Linked DNA regions of Homo sapiens: all the other regions are linked to region 1. The links are contacts of gene promoters, found by promoter capture Hi-C in blood cells and fetal thymus (Javierre and others, 2016). All regions are on one chromosome and are shown on one strand. Each heading gives the region's core, a stretch centred on a gene start or on the middle of the fragment in contact. The rest is flanking DNA. Distances are from core to core; before and after follow the strand shown. Region 1 holds the start of C11orf65 (chromosome 11 open reading frame 65). Region 2 has its middle 5.2 kb from the start of CUL5. Region 3 overlaps CUL5 (cullin 5). Region 4 overlaps CUL5 (cullin 5). Region 5 overlaps CUL5 (cullin 5). Region 6 overlaps CUL5 (cullin 5). Region 7 overlaps ACAT1 (acetyl-CoA acetyltransferase 1).

Region 1 (4,147 bases), core at 525-3,024:
TGGGCGGATCATCTGAGGTTGGGAGTTTGAGACCAGCCTGACCAAAATGGAGAAATCCCGTCTCTACTAAAAATACAAAATTAGCTGGGTGTGGTGGCGCATGCCTGTAATCCCAGCTACTCAGGAAGGCTGAGGCAGGAGAATTGCTTGAACCTGGCAGGCGGAGGTTGCGGTGAGTCGAGATCATGCCACTACTCCAGCCTGGGCAACAAGAGTGAAACTCGGTCTAAAAAAAAAAAAAAACAACAACAACAACAAAAAACGACAGATTCTAAAGCATGTTAAAATGTACCATCCAGTAGTGAGGGAGAAATTAAAGTGACGGAGAACTTAAAGGGGCAAAAAAAGGGATAAGTTAAATGGTAAAACCTTTGAGTAGGTGTAAGAGGACACCATCTGGAGCAGAAAGGAGGGTGGGACCGTTGCTGGCTTTAGATAAGAAATAAGATCGACTTTATATGGTTATTATGATGCTCCAGATAAAATAACCATTGTGAAAACCCTTCATAAGTTTTAAGATACTAAAATGTACTACCAGGCCGGGTCTGGTGGCTCAGGCCTGTAATCCTAACATTTTGGGAGGCCAAGGTGGGCAGATCACCTTAAGTCAGGGGTTTGAGACCAGCCTGGCCAATATGGTGAAACCCTGTCTCTAGTAAAAATACAAAAATAAACTGGGTGTGGTGGCGCACACTTGCAGTCACAGCTACTCGGAAGGCTGAGGCAGGAGAATAACTTGAACCCAGGAGGCAGAGGTTGCAGTGAACTGAGATCACGCCACTGCACTCAGCCTGGGCAACACAGCGAGATGCCTTCTCAAAAACAAACAACAACAAAAAACTAACCAAATAAAATGTACTATCAAACAACTGCTCAGGCAATGAAGTATTTTACTACACCCATGTGCCACTTGTAGATTCACAGATAAGTATTTTCCAAGCTTATTATATCCCTAATCAATAAAATTTTTTATCATAATAGATGATGTTTTCACTTATTTATTTTTACGCTTCGTGGAAAAAAGCCCACAAGACGTGTTTGGATTCTTGGTTTCACTTTTAAAGCAGCAAACAATCTTTACTTTGCTTGAATTGGAACCTGTATACGTCCTATTTTGTTTCCTCTACTAAATTTATTGAATAAACAAATGATTCGCGTGGCCTTTATAAGTTTCGTAATTTCGCTTTTCCTTTTTACCTGTGGTCCTTGATGCTAGGGGCAGGAGAAGAAAAACTAACCTATTCTTTAAAAACGCGTTTCCCTTTTCCATCTCTAAAAAAACTGAAAAGACGTAAAACAAATGGGAGGGGGCAAAGGAAAGAAATGAGGAAAAATCTAAGGAAGATTAATGTGTACTTCCCGGTCAGCGGGAAGGTGGACGGAGTAATATCTTTGCGGAGGATTGGGGTGTGGGGATCTGTGAAGGCGCAGTATGAGCAGTAAGGACTTGTCAACCAGCCCGACGCAACTTCACCGAGGGCGAGGAAAGGAGCTCTGAGGAAGGGGTTACTCCCGGGCAGGACTGTAAACCAGCTGGAGGCCTCGCTGGGAGGGCTTTAGAGGAATGAAACGTCCTTAAGAGGGGCGGATGGGGAATGGTATCAAGGGTATGGGTTCTTTAGGGCCTTGAAACAACGAAGGCTCAAACCAGTGGGCACAAAGGCTACCGGAACAGTAGTACGCGCTGAGAGAAGGGACACTATTCCCTTCACCTACCAATCGCTGCTGGCCCGGGCGCCGCTGGACTCCTAGGTAACGTCGCAGGCGGAAATGACGTAACTCAATCCGTTCTGTCCCGCCCCATTGCCCTCCTAGCCCCGCCTTCTAGGCCCCGCCTTTCCTCTATTCGCGCTCTGACAAAGTGCAGGGGATATAGACCAACCGCTTGTGAAGGCTGCTGGTTCTGTTAGAAGCCCGCTTTCGATTGTCAGTGGCTTTGAGGCAAAGGATTTTGGAAGGGAAAGCAAAGTGATTGTCTACGAAGTTGGGCTTAGTATATAATAAAGCCCAGTCATTTCAACCAAGAACCTTAAAGATGTTGAGAAATATAATGAAATATTTTCTATTAATTTTTGTAAAATTTTTCTTGAGATAGGGTCTCAATCTGTGGCCGAGGCTGGAGTGCAGTGGCGCGATCTCGGCTCACTGCAGCCTGGAACTCCCCTGGCTCAGGTGATTCTCCCACGTCAGCCTCCCGAGTAGCTGGGACCGTAGGAGTGCACCACCACGCCAGGCTCATTTTTCTATTTTTATTAATAGTGGCGACAGGGTTTCTCCATGTTGTCCAGGCTGGTCTTGAACTCCTGGGCTCCAGCGATCCCCCCCTACCCCATCTCCCGCCTTGGCCTCCCAAAGTGCTAGGATTACAGGCGTGAACCACCGCGCCCGGCCTATTTAATTAGTTTAATTTATTCATTTGAAAATGAGACAACTGATCCTTCTAGCTATTTGACAGGTCTTGCTCAAGGTCAAAGAATACGTGACTTGCAGTCCAATGTTATTTCTAAATGTAAGCTCTTCAGCTGGTTAAGCTAAACTGCTTTAAGTGAAAACAGACGACCTCTTGAATGAGTTTTCAAATGACCTTAAATAATGCAAGCACTGCTTATCTAAAGCAAGTCTGACTTGCTTGAATTCTGAGTCTGACACTTTGGCAGTGCTTTAGTTGGTCACAGATTATTGCAATGTGAAAAAATCTTGTTCAGAACTGCCCAGTTTTGCTATGTTCGTCCTATGTTCATGCATGGAATATAATTTGTTTGTAAGGAAGATAAACTTTTAAGGAGGGAAAAGAAACACCTGAAGAGAAATTTCCCTGTATAATGAAAACATTTGTACAGAAAAAATTCTTGGTAGGTTAATTCAGTGACTCACTGAACTTCCAGAGTTCTTTAAAATCATCACAATCATAAGCAAGGGGTGAGCTTCAGTTCCTCTTTATGTAGTTGCCTTGATGCATTAATACACAGTAGTTATGAACAATAAACTGTAAAAATATAGTCATGGAAACATTATGTATATCTTAATTTTCAATCTAATAGAAACTGGGTTAAAAAATTTAAATTCAGGCCAGGTGTGGTGGCTCACACCTGTAATCCCAGCACTTTGGGAGGCTGAGGTGGGCGGATCACTTGAGGTCAGGAGTTCAAGACCAGCCTGGACAACATGGTGAAACCCCCTCTCTACTAAAAATACAAAAATTAGCCCAGCCTCCCAAGTAGCTGGGACTACAGGCGCCCTCCATGATACCCGGCTAATTTTTTGTATGTTTAGTAGAGACGGGGTTTTACTGTGTTAGCCAGGATGGTCTCAATCTCCTGGTGGCGCGCTGCCTGTAGTCCCAGCTACTCAGGAAGCTGAGGCAGGAGAATTGATAGAACCCGGGAGGCAGAGGTTGGTTGCAGTGAGCCGAGATAGCGCCATTGCACTTCAGCCTGGCAACACAGCAAGATTCCCTCTAAAAAAAAAAAAAAATTAAATTCAAAATTACACAACAATGTGAATGTACTTAAGTCCACTGAATTGTACAATTGAAACTAGTTAGAAGGATAAATTTATGTATATTTTACCACAATTTAAAAATTTTAAATTAAAAAACTGCAAAACTAAGCCAGTAAATAATTTAGAACAAAAATTCCTAAATGTACTGGATGAAATATAAAAATAAATTTAAGGTATACTGCTGTTTAGATATTATTTTTATTAGGTTGGTGCAAAAGTAATTGCGGTTTTTGTCATTAAACATACATAATTAAACATAATGGCAAAAACCGCGATTACTTTTGCATCAACCTAATAAACTGCATATTTTTAATGTAGTGCTTATCTGAATTATTTTAAAAAGTATTTACAATAGTTACTGTTGAGTACTTATGTTACCTCTAACCTGATCCACAAGAATTCAGCAATTTCTACATAACAGGCTAGAACATTTTCTTATTGCTCTAATACATGTAAAAATTGTTCAGTTCTTTAAAAGTATCTTTCTTTAAAGTAGCCACAAGGGATCATTAAGACTAGAAACTGTCAAGTGTTAGGTTTATTCATTTATATGTACCTGCTTAAATCTAGGAACAGTTTACTAAGACGCAGAACTCAGAAGAACTTCTGGGTGGTTTCACAGAAATCGTTCCTTCCTTCCTTCTCT
Region 2 (4,147 bases), core at 831-3,330, 460 kb before region 1:
CTGGGTTCCCTGCCTCTTCTAGCAAGGATTAGGAGCATTCCCAAAAATCCTGTGGACTTGGGATAAAAGTGTCCCTCCCCAGCTTCTGCACTTACAACTACAGCAAAGAAGTCCGTTTACTTTTTTATTCTAAGTGAAACTTGGTTCCCTCCTGAAGTCACTGTTTTTTCTGCATCTCTCTCACAAGATGGCTGATGTACCACCGGGCCTACAGTTCGTGCATGGGTCCTCTTTGCTCCCACTGCCACTTCCAGATCATCCTCCCCATTCCCTAAAAACGCTCAGCTCTGAGTCTTGTGTCAGTCAGCTACTCATGCATTAATGCTCCTTTTCATTCATGTAATGACTTCCCAGATCATATGCCCTCATTCCTTAATGAATTTAGATCTTGACTCCAATATCATTCTCTCCAGCATTATTCCTGTGGTCATTCTTAGTGATTTCAACTTCTATATAAAAGATTATTAGTTACTTGGGAGGGTGAGGCAAGATAATTGCTTGAACCTGGGAGGCGGAGGCTGCAGTGAGCCGAGATTGCGCCTCTGCATTCCACTCTGGGCGACAGAGCAAGACTCTGTCTCAAAAAAAAAAAAAAAAAAAAAAAAAGATTATTAGTACCCTGGTGTTTTATTAAGGTTTCTCCTGAAAGCGAGTCTGAAACAAGGACCTGGGATAGAAGTGATTTCTTTGGGAGATAACCCAAGAGGCAGGAATGAGAAAGTAGGGAGAGTAAGATAAGGAAGGAGGAAAAGTGTGCCATCAAGGTCACCACCATGAACAAAGGGGACTCAGGTCCACTGAGATCTCTGGGAAGCATCCTGAGTGCCCCATAAAATTGTCCACCAATGGAACAGAGGTTGGGACACATATCCAGTGGCTGCTGACTCTCCTGGTTGGCAGTTGTCCCCAAAAGCATTGTCTTCCTTGTGCTTTGCTGCACTTGTCTGTGGACCTAGCAGGCTCCTGGACCTTCAGAGAAGACCTTGAGGTGAAAGCAGAAAGGAGAGGTGCTCTTTTCATGTGGGAAGGTATCAGGGACATCTGAGCTCACATAGAATGTTCATAGCCGCTGATGAAATCAGAAATAGGTCAAGAGGATGTGACTGAACACCGAAAGCGTCTGGTATGCCTGGCTTCTCCATTCCTTAACCTCCACTTTTCTAATGATTCTGTTCTCCTGTTCTCCAACTCAACTACTCTCTCTCTCTCTCTCTCTCTTTTCTTTTAGACAGAGTCTCACTCTATTTCCCAGTTAGTGGGTAATGGTGTGATCTCAGCTCACTGCAACCTCCACCTCCTGGTTTCAAGTGATTCTCATGCCTCAGCCTCCTGAGTAGCTGGGATTACAGGTGTGCGCCACCATGCCCAGCTAATTTTTGTATTTTTAGTAGAGACGGGGTTTCACCATGATGGCCAGCCTGGTCTCCAACTCCTGGCCTCAAGTGATCTGCCCTCCTTGGCCTCCCAAAGTGCTGGGATTACAGGCGTGAGCCACCGCGCCCAGCCAACTACTCTCAATCTTGATCAGAGTGTAGCCTTTGTCACTACCCATAATGCTCCCAATAACAACCTAAGCTCAATTTCATTCTCCAACTATCCCCTGCTATCTTTTCAGCCTAGTACCTCTTCCATCTTGACTCCAGCAATCCTTAGACTCCAATGTGAATGGACGGTACTTTGACCCTACTGTTTTTTCACTGTTCTTTGCCTCCTAATTCAGCTTAAATCCAAGGGTCGATCATCATACTCACTCCCTTGTATATATGCTCAATGCCCTCCATCATTCTCTCTCGGCAAAACCCCAACTTTGGTTACATCCAATTCTACGCCTGCACCCGAGTGGCTGAATATGTCTTTTGAATCAAACAGGTCCTGCCACGTAGGAGCTGTGAGACCTTAGGCACATTACTTAACCCTGGTGAATGTTAATTTCCTTAGCTATGCTGAGAGACCTCAATTAAAATCTGGGATAACTAGTCTCAAGTTGGCACTTAGGGATGCCCAGGAATCATTATATATTTCTCTTTCCTCTTCCACCATCATAGATAACAATTTCCCATCTTCTCCTTTTCTCCTTTCTTCTTAAACCTCACAGCATCCTCACTATCAGCTCATGACCTGGCTTCCAACTTCAATTAGAGAAGAGAAGCAATCGGAAGAGAATCTTCACTTCCAAGAGCCTATCGACGGTCTCGTGTCTATCCTCCTAGTAGGTGTGACTGTCCATGGTGCTAGCCAAGGTGCACCTCTCCCCATGTGTGCCCTAAGTGCCATCCTCTTGCCTTATCAAGAACATGGTTCTAGCACATTTTCTCCTTTCTATCCTTTCCATCATCATTTTTCCCCTTCTAAATGATGGATCATTCACATCAGCTACCTGACTCTTCCTCTTCTCAGGTGTGAAGTTTAAAAGATACTTAAGGCCGGGCGCAGTGGCTCACGCCTGTAATCCCAGCACTAAGGGAGGCCAAGGCGGGTGGATCACCTGAGGTCAGGAGTTCGAGACCAGCCTGACCAACATGGAGAAACCCCATCTCTACTAAAAATACATTAGCCAGGCATGGTGGCACATGCCTGTAACCCGGGAGGCAGAGGTTGCAGTGAGCCAAGATTGCACCATTGCACTCCAGCCTGGGCAACAAGAGTGAAACTCTGTCTCAAAAGAAACAAACAAAAAAAGATACTTAAGGTCTCCACAAGGAGGAATTAAATTCCTACATCAAATGTATTCATCTATGTAAAGTGCATAGAACTGTGTCTGACATATGGTAAGCATTATATGTTTTAGGTCTTATTATTACTACATTTACTGAGTGCTTACACGTGCAATACATTTTTTTCCTTTTTCTTTTTCTTTCTTTTTTTTTTTTTTGAGACAGAGTCCCGCCCTCTCACCCAGGCTGGAGTGCAGTGGTGCAATCTCGGCCCACTGCTCAACTCCCGGGTTCAAGCGATTCTCCTGCCTCAGCCTCCCCAGTAGCTGAGATTACAGGCACCCACCACCATGCCCAGCTAATTTTTGTATTTTTAGTAGAGACGGGGTTCCGTCATGTTGGCCAGGCTAGTCTCAAACTCCTGACCTCAGGTGATCTGCCCGCCTTGGCCTCCCAAAGTGCTGGGATTACAGGTGTGAGCCACTGTAATACATTACATTACAGATACAGACAAGGAAACTATGACTCAGCAGGGTTAAGTAATGTACCCAACGTCTCGTAGCTCATAAATGGCAGGATCTGTTTGGTTCTAAAGCACACATTCTTAAGTATTCTATGAGAAATTCTGGGCCACTGATGCACAAGAATTCTTGGCCACTGGTGTACAAGGAAAGTCACCTGGGATGCTTAGGGAAAAGGTAGATTTGGGGCCTCACTCCTGACCTGTAGAATCAGAATCTTCAGAGGGTAGAGCCTAGAAATCTGCTTTTAAAATAAGCACCCCAGGTTATTTTGATGTAAATGATCAGCCACATTTGACAAACTCCTTTATATATATTTTACTGCATACACAGAAAACAAATGAGAAGAATAAAACAAATGGCTAACAGTGGATATTTTAGGAGGTGGGAGAGAAAAGTTTATAGAGAACTTTCATTTTGTAAGGTATTATGGTTTAACATGATGGCTACATTTTCTTAAATTAGCAGGTGATTTTTTTTTTTTTTTGGAGACGGAGTTTCGCTCTTTGTTGCCCAGGCTGGAGTACAATGGCGTGATCTCGGCTCACCACAACCTCCCACTCCCGGGTTCAAGTGATTCTCTTGCCTCAGCCTCCCAAGTAGCTGGGATTACAGGCATGTGCCACCAAGCCTGGATAATTCTGTATTTTTAGTGGAGACAGGGTTTCTCCATTTTGGTCAGGCTGGTCTCGAACTCCCGACCTCAGGTGATCTGCCCACCTCAGCCTCCCAAAGTGCTGGGATTATAGATATGAGCCACTGTGCCCAGCCAGCAGGTGATTTTTAAAAAGATTTTAAATAAATAGAAGTAAAATTATCCCATTTTCTACTACTCACAAACACTGGTAACATTTTGAATATTTTTTCCAGTTTATCCACTATTCAGAGTAGGAAATAAAACTGTAGCTTTCTTTCTTTACAAAGTTGGAATTGTGGCACATATGTGGAATTTTGCATCCTATATTTTTACCT
Region 3 (4,147 bases), core at 1,066-3,565, 440 kb before region 1:
TAACAGTCAGATATTATAAAGTAAAATAATCACAGTGATTCAGTGATTTACACATCTACGCTGAAGATTATAGTGAAGTTAATAGAAGATACAAATGCTGAACTAAAATTTATTTACAGATGTCAGATATTCAAACCATTCGTGGAAATGTAAGGAAAATCAAAAGAAGTCTTTTGTACAACAGATACCACATTACAAAATTTGTTGGCCTTTATAATCCCCAATTAGTGAAATGCCATATATTTGCAATAAAAAAAAATAGTAGAAAATCTTGGAGTGGAATGATTAAACAAAGACAGTAGAAATGAGAAATTTTTGCTAAATTCCATCCTTCCATAATCTCAATTTCAAGCATCCTACTTGATTACCTGTTACCACCCTGTCTTTCTGACTCTCTCTAGTGCTTTTATTCCAACAGTCCACCTCCACTACTAAAGCCTTCAGTTCAGTGACTCTGCTACCTCATTGTTTAATGTCTTATATCTGTGGTTTATAGTTTTTATCAAATTAGAAAACATTTTTGCATTTTTCTTCAAATACTCTCTACACCCTTACATCAAGATTCCAATTATGTGTACGTTAGGTCATTTGATGTTCCACAGCTTACTGATACTCATTTAAAAAATATTTCTATGATGTTCATGCCATCCCATACCTTTTTGGTCATATAGAATATGTATAGTAGCTGACTTAATGTCCTTGTTTACTGAATGTAACACCTGTGTCATTTCTGGGTCAGCTTCTTTTGGTGATTTTTTTTGTCTTGGTGATAGTTTATATTTTCCTGTTTCTTTGCATGCTTGGTAGTTTTTAACTGGATGTCAGACATTGTGAGTATATGTTTTAGGGGCTTGATTTTAAAATTTTTCTCTAAATAGTTTTGGATTTGGCTGTGATGCAGTTAGGTAACTTGGAATCAGTTTGATCCTTTTGAAGCTTACCTTTAAGTTTCGTTAGAGTGTGTCCAGAATATCACTCGGGGTAGGGCTACTTTGGCTCCACTATAGACTCAATAACTTTCTGTGGACTCTACCCAATGCCTGGCACTTTAAAGGGTGTTTCCACTCTGGCTGGTAGCAACACTAACTGTTTCTGGCCCTGTGTGCACTCTGCTGATTGTTCTGCCCATTCCCATTCCTTCCTAATGGTTCTTTCCCCAGTCTCTTACAGTTTTCTCACACCCAGGTACAGGTTAGTACTCAGCCACAGGCCTCAGGGACCTTCTGTATAGATACCCAGAGCTCCCTTGATGCCACAAATTCTAGTCACCTCAGCCTTTTCAAACTCTGAACTCTGCCTCTTAAATGTAGTGAAACCCCTAGCGGCTGTTTGGGTTTCCCCTCCTTGTGATGAGGCCTGGAGACACTCTCTAGGCAGTATGTTTGGACATTTGTAGCGCTCACCTCATTTGTTTTTCTTTTCTCAGGAAGCGCTGTCCTGCACTGCTTTTGGTTTTCTAGTTTGTTTAGGCAGGAGGGAAAATCTGGTTCCTGTTATTCTGTCATGATGGGAAGCAGAAGTCTCTTTCTCTTTTCACCTTGAAGTCCATTTTCTCCGCCTTACCCAACATAAATTCTCTTCTCAATCATTATAGTTGTTCCCTTCAATACACTTTTTGCTTCCTTGCCCCTGTCTTGTTCTGCTTGGGAAAAGTGTACAACCCTGGTTAAATCTGTCTCTTCACTTTTCAGTGCCAGTACCTGTGCAGCTGAATGTCACTCGAGAAAAAGACACAACCGTGCTATTTGCACCTTAAATCCATGACCACAATGAGGCCAGTCATACTGCATTTCCAGAGTCACTTATTCTTCCACTTTCCTAGATGTATTTTTCACATCTTTTCTGTCAACATTCTAACATTTCCTCCCCGATCTTCTCAGACATTGTCGTTATTTCCACATCACTGGGAAATTAAAGCAATAAAATATGAACTTCTCAGAGTCGTACGACATCTATCCTTGTACCAGCACCTACATGTACATTCTTTTGCCTTCTCCTCTTAGCCTGTAGTCACTTCCTCCACATATGCGCTAGATCCCATTCCCTCTTGCCTATCCAGTGCAATTTAAATTCACTAGCAGTTTCTCTCCCTTTCCCCACATCATCAACATTTCATATCCTGGAATGTTCCTGTCAGCATACAATCATACTGTATCCTAGCTTTAAAAAATTATTTGGCCAGGCGCAGTGGCTCACGTTTGTAATCCCAGCACTTTGGGAGGCTGAGGTGGGCGGATCACGAGGTCAGGAGTTCGAGACCACCCTGGCCAATGTGGCGAAACCCCATCTCTACTAAAAATAGAAAAATTGGCTGGGCATGGTGGCGGGCACCTGTATTCCCAGCTACTCGGGAGGCTGAGGCAGGAAAACCACTTGAACTTGGGAGGCGGAGGTTGCAGTGAGCAGAGATCACGCCACTGCACTCCAGCCTGAAAGACAGAGTGAGACTCCGTCTCAAAAAAAAAAAAAAAAAAATTATTATTTTTTCACTTCCTCTCACCCTATCAATTACCATGCCATTTCTTTACTCTCTTATACAGGAAAAATTGTGAAGGGTTGTCTGTACTCTTTCTAGTTTTCTTCTTATTTATTTTTGTTTTTATTTACTATTTGTTTTTTGAGATAGGGTCTCACTGTCGCTGTCGCCTAGGCTGGAGTGCAGTGGCGCCATCATGGCTCACTGCAACCTCCGCCTCCAGGCCTTAGTAGCTGGGATTATAGGCGCCACCATGCCCAGCTAATTTTTTTTTTTTTTCTTTGAGACAGTCTCCCCCTGCTGTCCAGGCTGGAGTGCAGTGGCACAATCTTGGCTCACTGCAAACTCCGCCTCCCAGGTTCAAGCAATTCTCCCACCTCAGCCTCCTGAGTAGCCGGGATTACTGGGGCCTACCACCACACCCAGCTGATTTTTGTATTTTCAGTAGAGACAGGGTTTCACCATGTAGGTCAGGCTGGTCTCGAACTCCTGATGTCAAGTCATCCACCCACCCCGGCCTCCCAAAGTGCTGGGATTACATGTGTGAGCCACCGTGCCCAGCCAAATTTTTTGTATTTTTAGTAGAGACAGGCTTTTTCCATGTTGCCCAGGCTGGTCTCGAACTCCTGGGCTCAAGTGACCCGCCCGCCTCAGCCTCCCAGTGTTGGGATTACAAGCATGAACTATTGCGCCTGGCTCCTCGTTTCTCTTAATTCCACTCTTCATTCCACTCTAATCTGGTATTTGTCCTTACTACTCTGCAAAAACTTCTGTGGACAAAGTTTCAGTAACTTCCATATTGCTGTTTCAGTGGTTATCTTACCTGATCTGTCAGGAGAAATTCTTAAAATTGATTATTCTGTCTTTCTGACACACTTTATTTACTTTTTGTCCAGAATACCATACTCTTGGTTTTCTTGCCACCTGTGCTCTGGTTGCTCTCTTTGTCTCCTTTGCTAGTTCTTACTCCTCTCTCCGCCTCTTAATGTTGGATATCTAAAACCTCAGGCTTGGGTCTCCATCTTTATGTATCACTTCTCTCACAGTGATCTCATCCAATAACAGGTTTTAAAACCCATCTGTATTCTGATGACTTCAAGTTTTTATTTTCTGATAGGCCTTTTAAATTCTAGATTTCCATATTGGACTGCCTATTCAACATTTTCATATGAATGTATAATAGATATGTTAAATGTAATACATCTAAAACCAGTCTCACAAGCTTTCCTTAATAAGCCTGTCAAATCTTCTTTTATTCTAGTTGATGGTAGTGCCACACTTACTGGACAAAAGCCTTAAAGTCATGCTTTACTCCCATTTTCTCATATCTCAGATGCTTACTGTTAGGAAGTCCTGTTAGTACCACCTTTTGGGCATCTAAAATTGAACCACTTCTCATACCTCCTACCTCCATTGCTATCACCTCAGTCCAAGTCACCATCAGTGCTTCCTAATCCTACACCCAGTTTTAACCCTTGCCCCTTATAATATATTCTCAACATAGTAATGAGGGAGATTTTAAAATGTAAATAAGATTATGACACTTCAGGCCAGGTGCGGTGGATCACACCTGTAATCACAGCACTTTCGGAGGCCGAAGCGGGCGGATCACAAGGTCACGAGTTAGAGACCAGCCTGGCCGACATGGTGAAACCCCGTCTCTACTAAAAT
Region 4 (4,147 bases), core at 641-3,140, 420 kb before region 1:
TTTTTTGAGGTGGATTCTCACTTTGTCGCCCAGGCTGCAGTGCAGTAGCGCGATCTCGGCTCACTACAACCTCCGCCTCCTGGATTCAAGCGATTCTCCTGCCTCAGCCTCCCGAGCAGCTGAGATTACAGGCGCATGCCACCATGCCTGGCTAATTTTTGTATTTTTAGTAGAGATGGGGTTTCACCATGTTGGTCAAGCTGGTCTCAAACTCATGACCTCGTGATCTGCCCGCCTTAGCCTCCCAAAGTGCTGGGATTACAGGCATGAGCCACCGCACCTGCCGTGACTCCACCACCTTTTAAAAACTTGAGATATAATTAATATACCATAAAATTTACTCTCTTAAAGGATATGATTCAGTGGGTTGTAGTATATTTCATAAAATTGTGCAACCATCACCCAATAATCCCAGAATATTTTCATCACCCTAAAAAGAAATCCTATACCTATGAACAGTCACTCCCTTCTCCCAACCCACTAAATCACTAATCTGTTGTCCCTATGGATATGTCTATATTTGACATTTTCTGTAATTGGAATCATAATATGTGGCCTTTTGTGACTAGTTTTCTTTCACAATATTTGTTTCTCTTTATGGCTGAATAATATCTATTGTTTGGATATACCATATATTGTGGGGTTTTTTGGTTTCTTTTTTCATTTGTTTAGTTTTTTTTCAAGCCAGGGTATTGCTCTGTCGCCCAGGCCAGAGTGCAGTGGTGCAATCATGGCTCACTGTAGCCTCAACTGCTGGGGCTCAAGCAATCCTCCCACCTCAACCTCCTAAGTAGCTGGGACCACAGGCACGCACCAACACACCCAGCTAATTTTTTGTATTATTTGTGGAGATGAGGTCTTGCTATGTTGCCCAGGTTGGTCTCAAATTCCTGAGCTCAAGCAATCCTCCCGCCTCAGCCTCCCAAAGTGCTGGGACTACTGTATGAGCCACCACGCCTGGCCCATATATTGTTTATCCGTATTTCAGCTAATGGATATTTGGGTTGTTTCTATTTTTTATCTATTTTGAATAATGCTGCTGTGAACATTCGTGTACAAGTTTTTTTGTGAACATGTTTTAATTTCTTTTGGATATAAGAGCTTGTACAATAATTTAAAAATTATGTACAATTTAAATTTTGGCATGAATATGTTCTTAATTTTTCAAAGCAACTGCATTTATTTCAAATTGGTACACCTCTTTTTTTCAGCGAGTACTGAGCCATCAAGATGATACGGCTTTGCTAAAAGCATATATTGTTGAATGGCGAAAGTTCTTTACACAATGTGATATTTTACCAAAACCTTTTTGTCAACTAGAGATTACTTTAATGGGTAAACAGGGCAGCAATAAAAAATCAAATGTGGAAGACAGTATTGTTCGAAAGGTAAGACTATTTTTCTCCTTGTTTTCCTAATATTCTTCAGAAAGAGGGTAATTTGGAAGCATTTGAAAGTAATTTGAACTTTTAAGTGGGTTTTTCTACTTCACATGTCAATTGCTTTTCAGCTCTTAACTAGATTTTATTGAATAATATTCTTTTTTGTCTTTAGCTTCAATCTTCTTTCATCTTTTTATGTGGTCTTAAGCTATAGATCTGCATCTTCAACCATTATCTCCTTTACTTTTCCTTTTTACTTTCTCCTTCTCCTGGTATTCAGTATTTTATTTCTCTATTCTTTCTTTGTACTCTTTTTTTTTTTTTAAACTGGAGTGTCACTCTGTCGCCTAGGCTGGAGTGTGCAGTGGCGCAGTCTGCTCACTGCAACCTCCGCCTCCTGTGTTCAAGCAATTCTCCTGCCTCAGCCTCCTGAGTAGCTGGGACTACAGGCACGTGCTACCACACCCGGCTATTTTATTGTATTTTTAGTGGAGACCAGGTTTCACCATGTTGGCCAGGCTCGTCTCGAACTCCTGACCTCAGGTGATCTGCCTGCCTCAGCCTCCGAAACTGTTGGAATTACAGGCGTGAGCCACTGCACCCAACCTATACCCTTACTAGAAATTAAATTACTTTTCTCCCTGTCTCAAAAATCCCCTTTTATTAGGTTACCTTCTGATATCTTTATGTTTAATTGTGGCTAAACTGCTATCTTTATAATTTCCCTTTTACTTAACTCTTCTATTATAAATTCAGTATATACTGTGCTTATTTTCTATTTAAAAATTGTGTCAAGTAACCAGTCATGATTTAATGGAAAGAACTCAGTGCTGAATATGAAGGGTCCTAGGTTTCCCTTTCAGCTCTTCAAACTCCGTCCTCATTTTCCATATATCTTTCCACTTGTAAGAATAAAATGGGACCGTAGATTTGAAAAGTAAAAAATGCCATTTGAACTTTAGTCAATTTACTGTTTACTGTGATGGTTACAGTAAAACACTCAGGCATTACAATAGTGTAACCTGGGCATTGTTGCCCCATCCCAGCCTTAAAATTTGATCTGATGTTGACAGGGATACTGTAAATTTAGATACCCAGTGGTTCTTCAGTGATAGAAATCACTGCAATATGGGAAATTTGTGCCAAGGGAAAAAAAAAAGTGAAAAACACTTCTGGCTGCGATTTAATTTGTAGTCTCATAATCTTGTCCTCTTTTTTTGGCCATTCTATTGGTTGTGGGAAGCAGCATCCACTTAGTGATTAAGTGTATCAATTCTGGGGCCACAGTTTTTGGATTCAAATCTCAGTGTTGCCACTGATGAGGTGCATAAATGTGGAAAGTTAGCTTTGCTATCTGTACCCCAGGTTTCACATATCTAAAGGGGGGATAATCATAGTACCTATATCAAGATTATGAGGATTAAATGAGTTACATGCAGACAATACATAGAGCAGTCCCAGGTATAGAATGAGTGTTATAAAACTGTTAACTCTTGTTGTTATTGTTGCTGTCATTAATGTATCTCCTACATCTGACCAAGTTTCTTGGAGTACTGATATAATCACCAATGTTTATATACCATTTTTATCATTTTAATGGAACATCTAAACAGTAGATTTGCAGACCTTTTATAAGGTCCAGTATCAGATTTTCAGTTGGTCCTTTTTACATTTTTTATGTGTCTTTACAAACATATGCATATGTCTATTTCAAACACACCAATATATCTGAAATTCAACCATGGAACTATAGGAGAATAAACATTTTCCATGTATTATCATAGTTAATTTTTACAACCACTGAAATTTGCACTATTATTTTGACCATTTTATACATAAGAAAGCAGATAAATAAGTAACAGCTGGGATTCAAATCCAGTTGGATTCTGAAACACTTGTTCTTTATTTACTTTTGTTTTGTTTGAAATGGGCTCTTGCTGTGTTGCCCAGGCTAGAGTGGAATAGTGTGATCTTGGCTTGCTGCAGCCTTGCCCTCCTGGACTTAAGTGATCCTCCCACCTCAGCCTCCCAAGTAGCTGGGACTACAGGCACATGCCAGCATGCCTAGCAAATTTTTGTATTTTTTGTTGTTGTTGAGATGGGTCTTACTGTGTTGCCGAGGCTGGTCTCAAACTCCTGGCCTCAAGTGATCCTCCCACCTTGGCCTCCCAAGGTTTTGGGATTAGACCACACGCAGTCGACCCTTCTTTACCATTATGCTAAATATACTGCTTCCCCGAAGTATTCAAGTGAATGCAACCTAAGTTATTTTGAGACAGGGTCTTACTCTGTCACCCAGGCTGGAGGGCAGTGGCGTGGTCTCGGCTCACTGGGACTACAGGCGTGCACCACCACACTGGGCTATTTTTTTTGTATTTTTTTGTAGAGACAGGATTTTGCCCTGCTGCCCAGGCTGGTCTTGAACTCATAGACTCCAGCGATCCACCTGCCTCGGCCTCCCAAATTGTTGGGACTACAGGCGTGAGCCACTGCACCTGGCCCAGGCCTACAAATTTGATTTCCTTTTTTGGTGTTTGTACATGATACTTTGTATATTAATAATTGAAAATTATGTTACAATTTGTTCTTGTTTTCCTAGCTTATGCTTGATACATGGAATGAGTCAATCTTTTCAAACATAAAAAACAGACTCCAAGATAGTGCAATGAAGCTGGTACATGCTGAGAGATTGGGAGAAGCTTTTGATTCTCAGCTGGTTATTGGAGTAAGAGAATCCTATGGTATGTTCTGAACTTTTATGATCA
Region 5 (4,147 bases), core at 1,004-3,503, 400 kb before region 1:
TCCTTGTGGCCTAGACTGCCTTTCAAGTTTATTTGGAGCCCCAGAGTACTTTAGCTTATAGTGCGAGGCTTGCTAGAACTCAAGTCCTTACCACTGGAATGGGCGATTCCCCTCTGTCTAGGGCTGGTCTAAATGCTCCCTCCATGGGCATGTGTCAGCTGAGTTCATCCTACTTTTGCTTTCTGCTGTGAAAGGGTGGTGGTGAGTTCAATGCAGTATCTCACAGTTGCTGCTCTCTCCCTCTCCCAAGCACACAGATTCTCCATGCCATACAGCTGCTGCTGGGGGATGAGGGAGGGGTAACATTGGCGATTCAAGACTATCTTTCCTACCCTCTTCAGTGCCTCTTGCAGTGACATGAAGTTAAAACCAGGTACTATGAGTGCCCACCTGATTTTTGGTTCTTATGAAGGTGTTTTTTTGTGTGTAGATAGTTGTTAAATTTGGTGTTCCTGCAGGAGGAATGATCGGTGGAAGCTTCTATTTGGCCATCTTGCTCCACTCCTCTATTTTTTATTATTTTTTTTAGAAACAGGGTCTCACTATGTTGTCCAGCCTGGTCTGCATATTTATTCTTATTCCTGACCATTTGTATTTATTCTTTTGTGAATTCAGGATAATCTTTCATAAACATCACTTTTATTGTTTTACTTTTCTATTCAAAAACTAGAGTACTGGCTGGCCGTGGTGGCTCACGCCTCTAATCCCAGCACTTTGGGAGGCTGAGGCAGGCAGATCACAAGGTCAGGAGATCAAGACCATCCTGGCTAACACGGTGAAACCCTGTTTCTACTAAAAATACAAAAACAAACTTAGCCAGGCGTGGTGGTGGATGCCTGCTGTCCCAGTACTCAGGAGGCTGAGGCGGGAGAAATGGTGTGAACCCAGGAGGCAGAGCTTGCAGTGAGCCAAGATCACGCCACTGCACTCCAGCCTGGGCGACAGAGCGAGACTCTGTCTCAAAAAAAAAACCAGAGTATCATTATTTCATACCCCTGATTTTTAAGACCCTTCATAATTTGACCCTAACCTATTTTTCTAACTTAATATTGTCCAGCAAGAGTCACTCTACTCCAATAAGAAATATTTTTTTATTCATACAACTCACTCTGTTACTTTTTTTTTTGGATTCATTTTAGCAGTGTTTTCTTCTGCCTACCCAAAATCTTGCAAGGATTCTTTTAACTCACCTTGTAATAAAATTGTAATAAAGTAGCTCAGATCATCTAGCCTTCATCAGTTTCTTCCTATTTGAATTCCCGTGGTAACTATTGTTTCTACCACTAGGTTTAGGAGCAAATTATAGACTGCCTTGTATTTCTTATCAAGCACCAGCTGTGTGCCAGGACACAGCACAGTCTTTATAGCTGTGGACAGAGCACAATCTTTGTCCTTAAGTTTATAGTATAGTAATGATGCATTTTCCAGTTATTTGCTTATTAGTGAAGATCTTCTTTTCATACACATCTGTACATATGAACCATACACATGTTTTTAGGTATATAGTTTATGGGTTTCCAACTGGATTGTAAGATCATTGAGGGCATGAACCATGTTTATACTTCTCTATTCCTTAAAACACGTAACTCAGTTCTGAGCATGTAGCCATCACTAAGTATGTACATGCTCTACTTCTGTAGTAAGAAAAGTTGGAGGCTATGGAGATACATACCTGGCCTCAAATTATAACTCAAGACCTTATGAACCAACTGTGCAACATTTGGAAGTTATGTGGCTACTCTCAGTCTATGTCCTCATAAAGTAAGTATCTGCCTCATGAGGTTGCCATGTGGGTTAAATGAGATCTATATGTAAAGCATTTAGCATAATGCCTGGTACAAAGTAAGTGCCCATTAAAGGATACCTGTTATAATAATTTGTTTAACCTCTCAAGCTAGAAATGGATTCAACATCCTTTTATTTCCCTAATCCCTTTCATTTAAGCATTTACCAAATTCTTCTCAGTTTACTTTAATTATGTTGTCAATTTAGCTCTCCTTTTAATCCTCGTTGTAACCCACCATAAGAAATACATTTTATATTGTGGCTTAGAATATACTGTTTATTTGTACATATCTGAAACAAAAGTCTTATGAAATAATATTCATTGTTACAATATGTGATACACTCTGATATTTTTTGTTCTGTCCTATGTACATTTTTTTTTTTTTTAAACCTGGTCACAGCCATTAAAACTGATTTCACAACATACAGTCTGAAACACACTGGTCTGGATTTTTAGAATCTGCAAAATTTCAACTACCACTGAACAGGATAATGTTCAAGTGAAAGTTTTCAATGAAATAGAAAACACAGAGCTTAGAGTTTATTAGGATTCCACTTTGTCTTTGTTCTCTATTAGTTATATATTGTTAGATTTACCTATGCTCAATCTGGTTTCACTGCTTAAGGTGGAAGTGTTTAGTTGGGCCTATTCCAGTGATGTTATAGAATAAGATTACTCAGCAGTTGGGGCAGAGATTTCCACCTTGCAAGGAAAGAGTTTCTTAACCATTTTATATGTGTAGTCTTTTCTTTATTTTTCTTTTTTTTTTCCTTTTTTGAGACGGAGTTTTGCTCTTGTTGCCCAGGCTGGAGTGCAATGGCACGATCTCGGCTCACTGCAATCTCTGCCTCCCAGGTTTAAGCAATTCTCCTGCCTCAGCCTCCCGAGTAGCTGGGATTACAGGCACCCACCATGCCCGGCTAATTTTTAGTAGAGATGGGGTTTCTCTGTGTTGGTCAGGCTGGTCTTGAACTCCTGACCTCAGGTGATCCGCCCGCCTTAGCCTCCCAAAGTGCTGGGATTATAGGCTATGAGCCACCACGCCCAGCCATGTGTATTATTTTCTTAGGACAGAAATATACATGGATATATGCATTTAAAAGTCATCAGCATCATTCTTGTAGAGGAGCCTGAAAAAACCTTTTTTTTTGTTTTGTTTTGTTTTGTTTTGTGACAGTCTTGCTCTGTCGCCCAGACTACACTGCAGTGACATGATCAAGGCTTACTGCAGCCTTGACCTCCTGAGCTTAACTGACCCTCCCACCTCAGCCCCCCAACTCGCAGGGACCACAGAAAATTCTTTATTCGGAAAATTTTAAGCATTTTTACAATGTAGGAAGAACAGTATAATGAATCCCCATTACCTAAATTCAGCTTTAGTAGTTACCAACATTATGTCAATTCCAAAGGAATTTTTAATAAAAAATTTTTAAGGGACACATAATTGCCTCCCTTAATTTACAGATAGATGATTTGTTTTTCAGAAGAAATATATCAGCCTTATTGTACTTAACTTTAGTCCTCACAACCTATTAATTTCATCTGATCCCCAAAAGAGAAGTAAATAATTACATGACACGAGGGAGCAGAGATGACATGATATCTTCTGCCTCATTTAGATTTTCCTGATGGCCTCCTAGAGCACTAGACCCTTGCTATCTTACCTGAAATAGTTCAACAGCCTCGTTACCATATCCCAACCACCCACTCCTTACCACCTGCCTTACTACCATTATACTGATCTTTAATAATGACTTGAGGAGAGGAGAATCTCATTACATTTATCCTCTGTTTAAAACTTCCTTGGGGCCAGGCCTGATGGTTCACACCTGTAATCCCACACTTTGGGAGACTGACAGGGGGATCATGTGAGACCAGGAGTTTGTGACCAGCCTGGGGAACATAGCAAGACATCATCTCTACAGAAAAGTTTAAAAAATTAACCAGACTTGATAGTACATCCCTGTAGTCCTAGCTACTCAAGAGGCTGAGGCAGGAGGATCACTTGAGCCTAGGAGTTCAAGGCTGTAGTGAGGTATGATAGTAGCTATGTAGTAATGCCACTGTACTCCAGCTTGGGCAGCAGAGCAAGACTCTGTCTCTTAAACAAACAAAAAAACCTTCCTTTGTTCTTCCTTCCCTACCTATGAAATAAAACCCCAAATCATAGATTTTCATTCATAATCTGGTTGCAGCCTATCTTTCTAGCCTTCTCTTCCACTGTCTGTTTCTTCTCTACCATTTTAAGCTTCCTGGTATTCCTAGAATACGTAACCTATTTTAGGGCTTGTACTTACTTTACAGGATCCCATTTAGATACCAACTTGTGGATGAGGCCATTTTAACTACCCTAGAAAAAAG
Region 6 (4,147 bases), core at 444-2,943, 380 kb before region 1:
ACTAGCCTGACCAACATGGCAAAACCGCGTCTCTACTAAAAATACAAAAATTAGCTGGATGTGCTGGTGCACTCCGGTAATTCCAGCTGCTTGGGAGGCTGAGGCAAGAGAATCACTTGAACCCAGGAGGTGGAGGTTGCAGTGAGCCAAGATCGTGCCATTGCACTCCAGCCTGGGTAACAGAGTGGGACTCCATTTCAAAAAAAAAAGAATATACCATCAATTATATAAAATAAAGTGATATCTAATAAATGTTCTTAATACTTTCAGTAAAGTATCTTTGTTCTTGAGTTGTTTCTACTGTTTCACTCCCATTTGTACCTCAACTCTCATTTAAACTGACCTTATTAATAAATAGACTACAGGGGCTGGGCACGGTGGCTCACACCTATAATCCCAGCACTTTGGGAGGCCAAGGCAGGTGGATCACAAGGTCAGGAGATCGAGACCATCCTGGCTAACACAGTGAAACCCAGTCTCTATTAAAAATACAAAAAAATTAACGAGGCGTGGTGGTGGGGGGCCTGTAGTCCCAGCTACTTGGGAGGCTGAGGCAGGAGAATGGCATGAACCCTGGGGGGCGGAGCTTGCAGTGAGCTGAAATCGAGCCACTGAACTCCAGCCTGGGTGACAGAGCAAGACTCCATCTCAAGAAAAATAAAATAAATAAATAGACTGCAGGACAAATTATTATATCTTTAAGGTATTTTCAGTACTAAATGCTTAACTTTAGAGATGTTTATAAATGATAACAATAAATACTTCTGTATAGCAAAAAGAACCTTTAAATGATGGCCTATTTAGGGTAATCAATGCTGATTATAACTAAATTCCCATATAAAGTATTTTGAGTTCTTTTTTTGTTTTAATTATTAAAGTAAATATCTTTAATTTCTGTGTATGTATATAACTCTCTCCACATATATATGGAGAGAGAGAGAGTGCGAGCAAGCACACACGAGAGAGACCTACAGATATTTTAACTTATAGCTAGCCCTTCGCATGGAACTTTAGGATAGTAAAAATTACTGTGCTAACTGAAACTGCTTAGTAGGAAAAAGAATGATTATTCTGTGACTTTTTAAAACTATTGTCAAAAGACTCAAAACTCTTACTGTCACTTATAAGTATATAGGAAAAAGGGGAAAATAGCAAAACTAATACATATTTACTACGAGAAACCTTTAGAATTAAATTTTCTTTCTTTCTTTCTTTTTTTCTTTTTTTTGGAGATGTAGTCTTGCTGTGTTACCCAGGCTGGATTGCAGTGGTGCAATCTTGACTCACTGAAACCTCTGTCTCCCAGATTCAAGCAATTCTCCTGTCTCAGCCTCCTAAGTAGCTGGGACTACAGGTTTGTGCCATGACGCCTGGCTAATTTTTGTATTTTTAGTAGAGACACGGTTTTGCATGTTGGCCAGGCTGGTCTTGAAATCCTGGTCTTAAGTGATCCGCCTGCCTCGGCCTCCCAAAGTACTGAGATTACAGGCGTGAGCCACCACACCCGGCCTATGTTATTTCTTTGTTAAAAAAAAAATATCAAGACCCAACAGTAAAATGACAAACAAGGCTAGGCATGGTGGCTCACACCTGTAATCCCAGCACTTTGGGAGGCTGAGGAGGGCAGATGGCTTGTGCTCAGAGTTTGAGATGAGCCTGGGCAACGTGGTGAAACCCCATCTCTACAAAAATTTAAAAAATTAGCTGGGTGTGATGGCATGCACCTTAGTCCCAGCTGCTTGGGAGGCTGAGGTGGGAGGATCGCCTGAGCCTGTGAGGTGGAGGTTGCATTGAACAGAGATCTTACCACTGTACTCCTGCCTGAGCAACAGAGTCAGATCCTGTCTCTCTCACTCACACACACACACACACACACACACACACACACACACGACAAATAATTAAAAGCAGGCAAAGGATTCGAATTGACATCTCTTCACAGAAGATAGACAGATGGCCAATAAGTGCATGCAAAGATACTCAACATCATTAGTCATTAGTGAAATGCAAGTGAAATGCTCAACATGTTGGCTCCTGCTTATCCCAAATATTTTGAAAGGCTGAGGTGGGAGGATTGCATGAAGCCAGGAGTTAGAAACTACCCTGGGCAAAATAACAATACTCCATGTCTACAAAAAATACAGAAATCAGCTAGGCATGGTGATGTGTGCCTGTGGTTCTAGCTACTCAGGAGGCTGAGATGGGATGATTGCTTGAGCCCAGAAGTTCAAAGTTGTAATGAGCTGAGATTGTGCCACTGCACTGCAGCCTGGGCAACAGAGTGAGACCCTTTCTCAAAAACAAAAAAAACACAAAGAGATACTACTTTATTCCCACTAGGGTAGCTAAAATAAAGACAGATGATAACAAATGCTAGTAAGGAAGAGGAGAAATTGGAACCTTCGTAAGTTGCTAGTGGAGACATAAGATGGTGCAGACACTTTGGAAAACTGTTGGGCAGTTCCTTAAAATGTTGAACGTAGAGCTGACCCAGCAATTTCACTCTTAGGTAATTCATTTGAAGAGAAATGAAAACATGTTTCATGTAAAAACTTGTAAACAAATGTTCATGGCAAGATTACTAATAATAGTCAAAAAGTGGAAACAACCCAAAATGTCAGTGAGCTAATGAATAAAATGTGATTTATCCATACAATGGAATATTTTTTGTGATAAAAAGGAATAAACTAATAATACATGCTGCAATATTAGGTGAACTTTGAAAACATAATGCTGAGTGAAAGAAGCCAATCCCAAAGACCATATCGTATGATTCCACTAATGTGAAGTGTCCAGAATAGGCAAATCCACAAATTCCAGGAGTTGGGGCCAGGAGGGGAAATGACGAGTGACTGTAAATAGTATGGGGTTTCTTTTTGGGGTGATGAAAATGTTCTAAAATTAGATAGTGGTGATGGTTGCACAGTTCTGTAGATATACTAAACTTCATTACACTGTATATTTTATTTTTATTTTTATTTTTTATATTTTTTTGAGACAGAGTCTCACTTTGTTGCCCAGGCTGGAGTGCAGTGGTGCGATCTTGGCTCACTGCAACTTCTGCCACCCAGGTTCAAGCGATTTTCCTGCCTCAGCCTCCTGAGTAGCTGGGATTACAGGCGCATGCCACCATGCCCAGCTAATTTTTGTATTTTTAGCAGAGATGGGTTTCACCATGTTAGCCAGGCTGGTCTTGAACTCCTGACCTCAGGTGATCCACCCGCCTCAGCCTCCCAAAGTGCTGGGATTACAGGCATGAGCCCAGCCAAATTGTATACTTTAAAATAGTAGATTTTATGGTAGATAAATTATCTGACACAGTAAAGCTGTTAATAAAGAGTAGTTTGAATAGCTTTTGCCTTCTTGTGTAACTTGACAGAGTAAGCATCTTTTCTTTGCCTTGGAGAGTTGTCACACCCCCTGTAATTTGGATGATCTTCTAGCATTTTATCTTTTGGGCTGTCAGTGTCATGAAATACTGAGAATTCCTTTATAGCATTTTTGCCAGGATCACTTCTTCTAGGGTATCTTATCTTTTTTGTCACTCACCACTTTTATCTTTTATGTTGGTAATTTGCTTTCACTAAGTTCCTCAACACTGGCATTGTCAGCCTTACTACCACAGTCAGCTTTCTTCTATAACTCCATTTATGTTCTATTTTATTTTCATTTCCAGCATTATCACTTTTCATTTCCTGTTTACTTTTATATCTTTGCCAATTATCTTGTTTGATTATTCTTTTTTGTAAGTAGTCATGTGGGTTTATTACTGGAAGACAAGGATGCAATGAAACTGCATACTTTGCTGTCTGCAGTTTAACTGAATAAACAAATGACTAATAGGTTGTGTTTACATTTTTTAAAAATTTATTTATTTAATTTTTTCAAGCAACAGGATCTTCTGTTGCCCAGGCTGGAGCGCAGTGACACAATCAGAGCTTAAACTCCTGGGCTCAAGCAATCCACCCACCTCAGCCTTCCGAGTAGCTGGGACTATCTCGGCAGTATGCCGCCATATCCTGCTAACTTTTAAAATTTTTTTGTAGTGATGGGGGTGTCACTGTGTTGCCCAGGCTGGTCTTAAAATCCTGGCTTCAAGTGATCCTCCTGCTTCAGCCTCCCAAAGTGCTAGGATTACACACCATGC
Region 7 (4,147 bases), core at 771-3,270, 340 kb before region 1:
CTACTTAGTTCTGTGGCCTCAGCTGCTGCCGTGCTCACTCTGCTTTTGCCACAGGACCCTTCTTTCTATACTTAGTATGTGTGCCAATTTTGTTCCGAATTCGTGGCCTTAGTCCTACGTGTTCCTGATGCCTCAAATGTTCTTTTCCTGGATCTTTCCAAGGATGACTCTTTAACATTCATTTCTCAGCTCCATTAACATTGCTAGAAGGCCTTTTTTGACTCTCCCATGTAAAGTAGGCCGTCAGTTACTCTCTAGTTCATGATCAATTTTGCTGGTTTCATAACATTTACTGTAGCTGAAATTTTGTTTCTCTGAGTTATTGGTAACTTTCAGACTGTCTTCAAATATTTGTTTTGTGTCTGCTGCCATCACTGGGATAGAAAATAAATAAAATCAGTCTCTTCTTGGAATTCACAGTCTAGTGAGGAGAAAAGCCACCTGAGGGTTACAAAATTATATATTCTGGAACAATTAGAATGTGCACGGGCGTTGTGGAAGCTGAGATAGGAGTGCTGACCTCTGCCTGGCATGGCTGAGCCCTCCCTGAAAGATAATTGTGTTATGTAGATAAAACTTAATGGGTTGTGTTCATTCAGCATGTATTATTATACACTATATGGTTCAGTGTCCTGACCATACTATAATTTTGTCATTCGTTTCTGATATTGAAGGAGCGCTAGGCACTGTGCTAAGTCATAGGGATGTAACAGTGAGCAAGAGACACCATCCCGCCATCAGGAAGCCTGTATTATGTTGGAGGGGTGGATAATAAAACAAAGATGTGAACCACATACTTACAGTGTAAGAGGTGCTTTGAAGGAAATAAAGATATTCATATAAAAGAGAGGAAAAAGTAGAGGGTAACTTTAAATAGAGTAGTTAGGGTGGACCACTCTGGGAATGTGTCATTAGAAAAGACATGAAGAATAGGCTGGGTGTGGTGGCTCACGCCTGTAATCCCAGCACTTTGGGAGGCTGAGGCGGGCAGATCACCAGGTCAGGAGATCGAGACTATCCTGGCTAACAAGGTGAAACCCTGTCTCTATAAAAATGCAGAAAATTAGCCAGGCGTGGTGGCGGGCGCTTGTAGTCCCAGCTACCTGGAAGGCTGAGGCAGGAGAATGGCGTGAACCTGGGAGGCGGAGCTTGCAGTGAGCCGAGATCGCGCCACTGCACTCCAGTCTGGGTGACAAAGTGAGACTCCGTCTAAAAAAAAAAAAAAAGAAAAGACATGAAGAATAAAAATGAGCCAGCCATGGAGAGCTGGGAAGACTTTTTGTTTTGTTTTGTTTTTGATTTTTTTGGAGACAGGATCACACTCTGTTGCACAGGCTAGAGGGCAGCGGCGCGATCTCGGCTCACTGAAACTTCTGCCTCCTGGATTCAAGCGATTCTCCCACCTCAACCTCCCAAGTAGCTGGGACTACAGGTGCCCACCCCCACACCTGGCTAATTTTTGTATTTTTAGTAGACACGGGGTTTCACCATGTTGGCCAGGCTGGTCTCAAACTTCTAATCTCAAGTGATCCACCTGCCTCGGCCTCCCAAAGGGCTGGGATTATAGGCATGAGCCACTAGGCCCGGCCTGAGGAGACTATTACTGGCAGAGGCACACTGCAGAGACCTTGAGGTATCGGGATAGGGTTTAGAACAAAGAGATGCCAGTGGCTGGCACAGAGCAAGAGTGATGTAAATTTGGAGAGAAAACCTAGAGCCAGATCATGCAGGTTCTTGGAGGATGAGGTAAAGAATTTGTATATAATTCCAAGAGCAATGAAAAGCTGTTAAATTATTTTAAGCAGTAGAGTGATATGATCTGATTTACATTTTTCAAAGCTGGAGGGACTGTAGAGAGGTGTCAGGGGAGGCAGGGAACTAGGTAGAAGGCCATTAATAGGAACAAGAGATGGTGGCTTGGACTAGGTGGCAGCAGTAGACATGAGGCAGAGTGGACGAATTTAGTTATGTTTTGGACGCTGTTCACAGTATCTGGATTTTAGGGATTGCAATAAAGGGAAGGATGAAGGATGATTTTGGCTTGAGCACCTGAGAATACCGGCAACAAACAGGTTTTCTTTTTTTTTTTTTTTTTTTTGAGATGGAGTCTTCTCTGTCACCCAGGCTGGAGTGCAATGGCGCAATCTCAGCTCACTGCAACCTCCACCTCCCGGGTTTAAGCAGTTCTCTTGCCTTAGCCTCTGGAGTAGCTGGGATTACAGGCGCGTGCCACCATGCCCTGTTATTTTTTTATTTTATTTTATTTTTATTTTTTTGTATTTTTGGTAGAGACGGGGTTTCAGCATGTTGGCCAGGCTGGTCTGGAACTCCTGACCTCGTGATCCGCCCCCCTCGGCCTCCCAAACTGCTGGGATTACAGGGGTGAGCCACTGCACCTGGCCACAAACAGGTTTTCTAGGGTTGGAAATTGAGAGCTATGATTTGGACATTCACCTGCAGCTGTCAGGTTGGCGCTTGGGTGTGAGTCTGGTGGTCAGTTGAAAGGTCAGGGTTGGAGATAGAAATTTGGAAAATCATCAGCACATAGAAGCCTTTTTTTTTTTTTTTTGAGACAGAGTCTCACTCTGTCACCCAGGCTGGAGTGCAGTGGCGTGATCTTGGCTTACTGCAAGCTCCACTTCCCGGGTTCACACCATTCTCCCACCTCAGCCTCCCAAATAGCTAGGGCTACAGGTGCCCGCCACCACGCCTGGCTAATTTTGTTTTTGTATTTTTAGTAGATATGGGGTTTCACCGTGTTAGCCAGGATGGTCTCTATCTCCCGACCTCGTGATCTGCCTGCCTTGGCCTCCCAAAGTGCTGGGATTACAGGCGTGAGCCACTGTGCCCGGCCTCATAAATGCTTTTTAAAGCCATGGGACTGGATATAACTAAGGATATAGTGAAGTTAAATTAAAAGAGGCCTGGAACAAAGCCCTGGGACATTCAGCACTTGGAGGTTGGAAGGGGAAGATGAGATAGTAAAGGAGACTGAGGTAAATATGACTAATGAGGTAGGAAGGAGTCCACGTTTGTAATGGAAGCCAAGACAAGGAAGGGTTTCTGCAGTGGATTATACATATTACCTCATTTTATTCTCATAACAGCCTGTGGAGGGTATTTAAGAAAACCAAGGTAAGTGTGTCTAAGTAACTTGCTCAAAAATACTCAGCTTGCAGGGCACAGTGGCTCACGCCTGTAATCCCAGCACTTTGGAAGGCCAACGCAGGAGGATCGCTTGAGCCCAGGAGTTTGAGACCAGCTTGGTAAGATAGTGAGACTCTGTCTCTACAAAACAAACAAACAAAGAATACTGAGCTGGTAAGCCCAGGCTCTTAACTGCTCAGCATATTTCTCAAAGAAAGGTGAGCCCAGTCTTGCTGATGTGTTAAAAGGTTAAGTGAGACAATTATAGCGAGTTGGATTTTGCTACACAGACATTGCTGATGTTGCTCAGAACCAACAGTGGTAAACTGGCAGAAATAAAATCCTGATCTGAGTGGGTTGAACTGTAAAGAGGAGGTGAGGACAAGCAAATAGACACTGTAGGTAACCTGGAGAACCTTTCTTGCCAAAGAGAACTAAAGTAAGGTGAGGCCATGTGCAGTGGCTCATGCCTGTAATCCCAGCACTTTGGGAGGCCGAGGCAGGCGGATCACCTGAGGTCAGGAGTTCAAAATCAGCCTGGCCAACGTGGTGAAACCCTGTCTCTACTAAAAATACAAAAATTAGCCGGGCGTGGTGGCGCATGCCTGTAGTCCCAGGTACTCGGGAGGCTGAGGCAGGAGAATTGCTTGAACCTGGGAGGCAGAGGTTGCAGTGAGCTGAGATCGCACCACTGCACTCCAGCCTTTTTTCAAAAAGAAATGAGGTGAAAGCTCGGGAATGTGGGTCAAGAGACATTTATTTGTTTTTACTTTGTTTTTTAGGTGGGGGGAATCAGATCCTGTTTGTATGCTTATGGAATTATCCAGAAGTAAAAGGGGTGAATGATGTAGAGGAGAAGGAAGGGATAACTGTGCCATCTTTGAAAAGGCAACTGGAAATGGGATCCAGAGTAAAGTGGAGAGAACCAGGGAAGATTCCATTAAACTGGACCAGAAGCTTGAAAGAAGAGAAGTGGCTTAGTAAACAAGGAACAAACTAG

Evidence for each region. The method cuts DNA at HindIII sites, captures the fragments that hold promoters and counts their contacts. A CHiCAGO score of 5 or more calls a contact.
Region 2: a fragment that was not itself captured here is called in contact with the fragment with the promoter of C11orf65 in region 1 in 1 of 17 cell types (fetal thymus); the score reaches 6.0 in fetal thymus.
Region 3: a fragment that was not itself captured here is called in contact with the fragment with the promoter of C11orf65 in region 1 in 4 of 17 cell types (naive CD8 T cells, total CD8 T cells, naive B cells and 1 more); the score reaches 6.4 in naive CD8 T cells.
Region 4: a fragment that was not itself captured here is called in contact with the fragment with the promoter of C11orf65 in region 1 in 1 of 17 cell types (total CD4 T cells); the score reaches 5.4 in total CD4 T cells.
Region 5: a contact is called between a fragment that was not itself captured here and the fragment with the promoter of C11orf65 in region 1, in 2 of 17 cell types (total CD4 T cells and non-activated CD4 T cells). The highest score is 6.9, in total CD4 T cells.
Region 6: a contact is called between a fragment that was not itself captured here and the fragment with the promoter of C11orf65 in region 1, in 1 of 17 cell types (total CD4 T cells). The highest score is 5.1, in total CD4 T cells.
Region 7: a fragment that was not itself captured here is called in contact with the fragment with the promoter of C11orf65 in region 1 in 5 of 17 cell types (total CD4 T cells, naive CD4 T cells, naive CD8 T cells and 2 more); the score reaches 7.7 in total CD4 T cells.

The regions. Positions count from the first base shown.
Region 1 is chr11:108,465,755-108,469,901 of GRCh38, forward strand. C11orf65 (chromosome 11 open reading frame 65) reads right to left here and starts at 1,775. Exons shown (of 9, transcript NM_152587.5): 1 at 1,717-1,775. RefSeq lists enhancers at 994-1,846, 1,787-1,931 and a cis regulatory region at 1,859. The HindIII fragment of the contact is 4,195 bases long and covers 939-4,147 here.
Region 2 is chr11:108,001,595-108,005,741 of GRCh38, forward strand. No RefSeq gene overlaps it. Among named protein-coding and RNA genes, the nearest start is that of CUL5, 5.2 kb to the right of the region's middle. The HindIII fragment of the contact is 4,460 bases long and covers 1-4,147 here.
Region 3 is chr11:108,024,533-108,028,679 of GRCh38, forward strand. All of the region lies in intron 1 of CUL5 (cullin 5), which reads left to right. Among named protein-coding and RNA genes, the nearest start is that of CUL5, 18 kb to the left of the region's middle. RefSeq lists an enhancer at 1,389-1,488. The HindIII fragment of the contact is 2,762 bases long and covers 935-3,696 here.
Region 4 is chr11:108,048,679-108,052,825 of GRCh38, forward strand. It overlaps CUL5 (cullin 5), which reads left to right. Exons shown (of 19, transcript NM_003478.6): 4 at 1,212-1,388; 5 at 3,982-4,123. Among named protein-coding and RNA genes, the nearest start is that of CUL5, 42 kb to the left of the region's middle. The HindIII fragment of the contact is 4,378 bases long and covers 1-4,079 here.
Region 5 is chr11:108,065,383-108,069,529 of GRCh38, forward strand. The region is part of intron 7 of CUL5 (cullin 5); the gene reads left to right. Among named protein-coding and RNA genes, the nearest start is that of ACAT1, 54 kb to the right of the region's middle. The HindIII fragment of the contact is 3,557 bases long and covers 476-4,032 here.
Region 6 is chr11:108,089,841-108,093,987 of GRCh38, forward strand. All of the region lies in intron 13 of CUL5 (cullin 5), which reads left to right. Among named protein-coding and RNA genes, the nearest start is that of ACAT1, 30 kb to the right of the region's middle. The HindIII fragment of the contact is 5,776 bases long and covers 1-4,147 here.
Region 7 is chr11:108,124,714-108,128,860 of GRCh38, forward strand. All of the region lies in intron 1 of ACAT1 (acetyl-CoA acetyltransferase 1), which reads left to right. Among named protein-coding and RNA genes, the nearest start is that of ACAT1, 5.2 kb to the left of the region's middle. The HindIII fragment of the contact is 4,164 bases long and covers 1-4,102 here.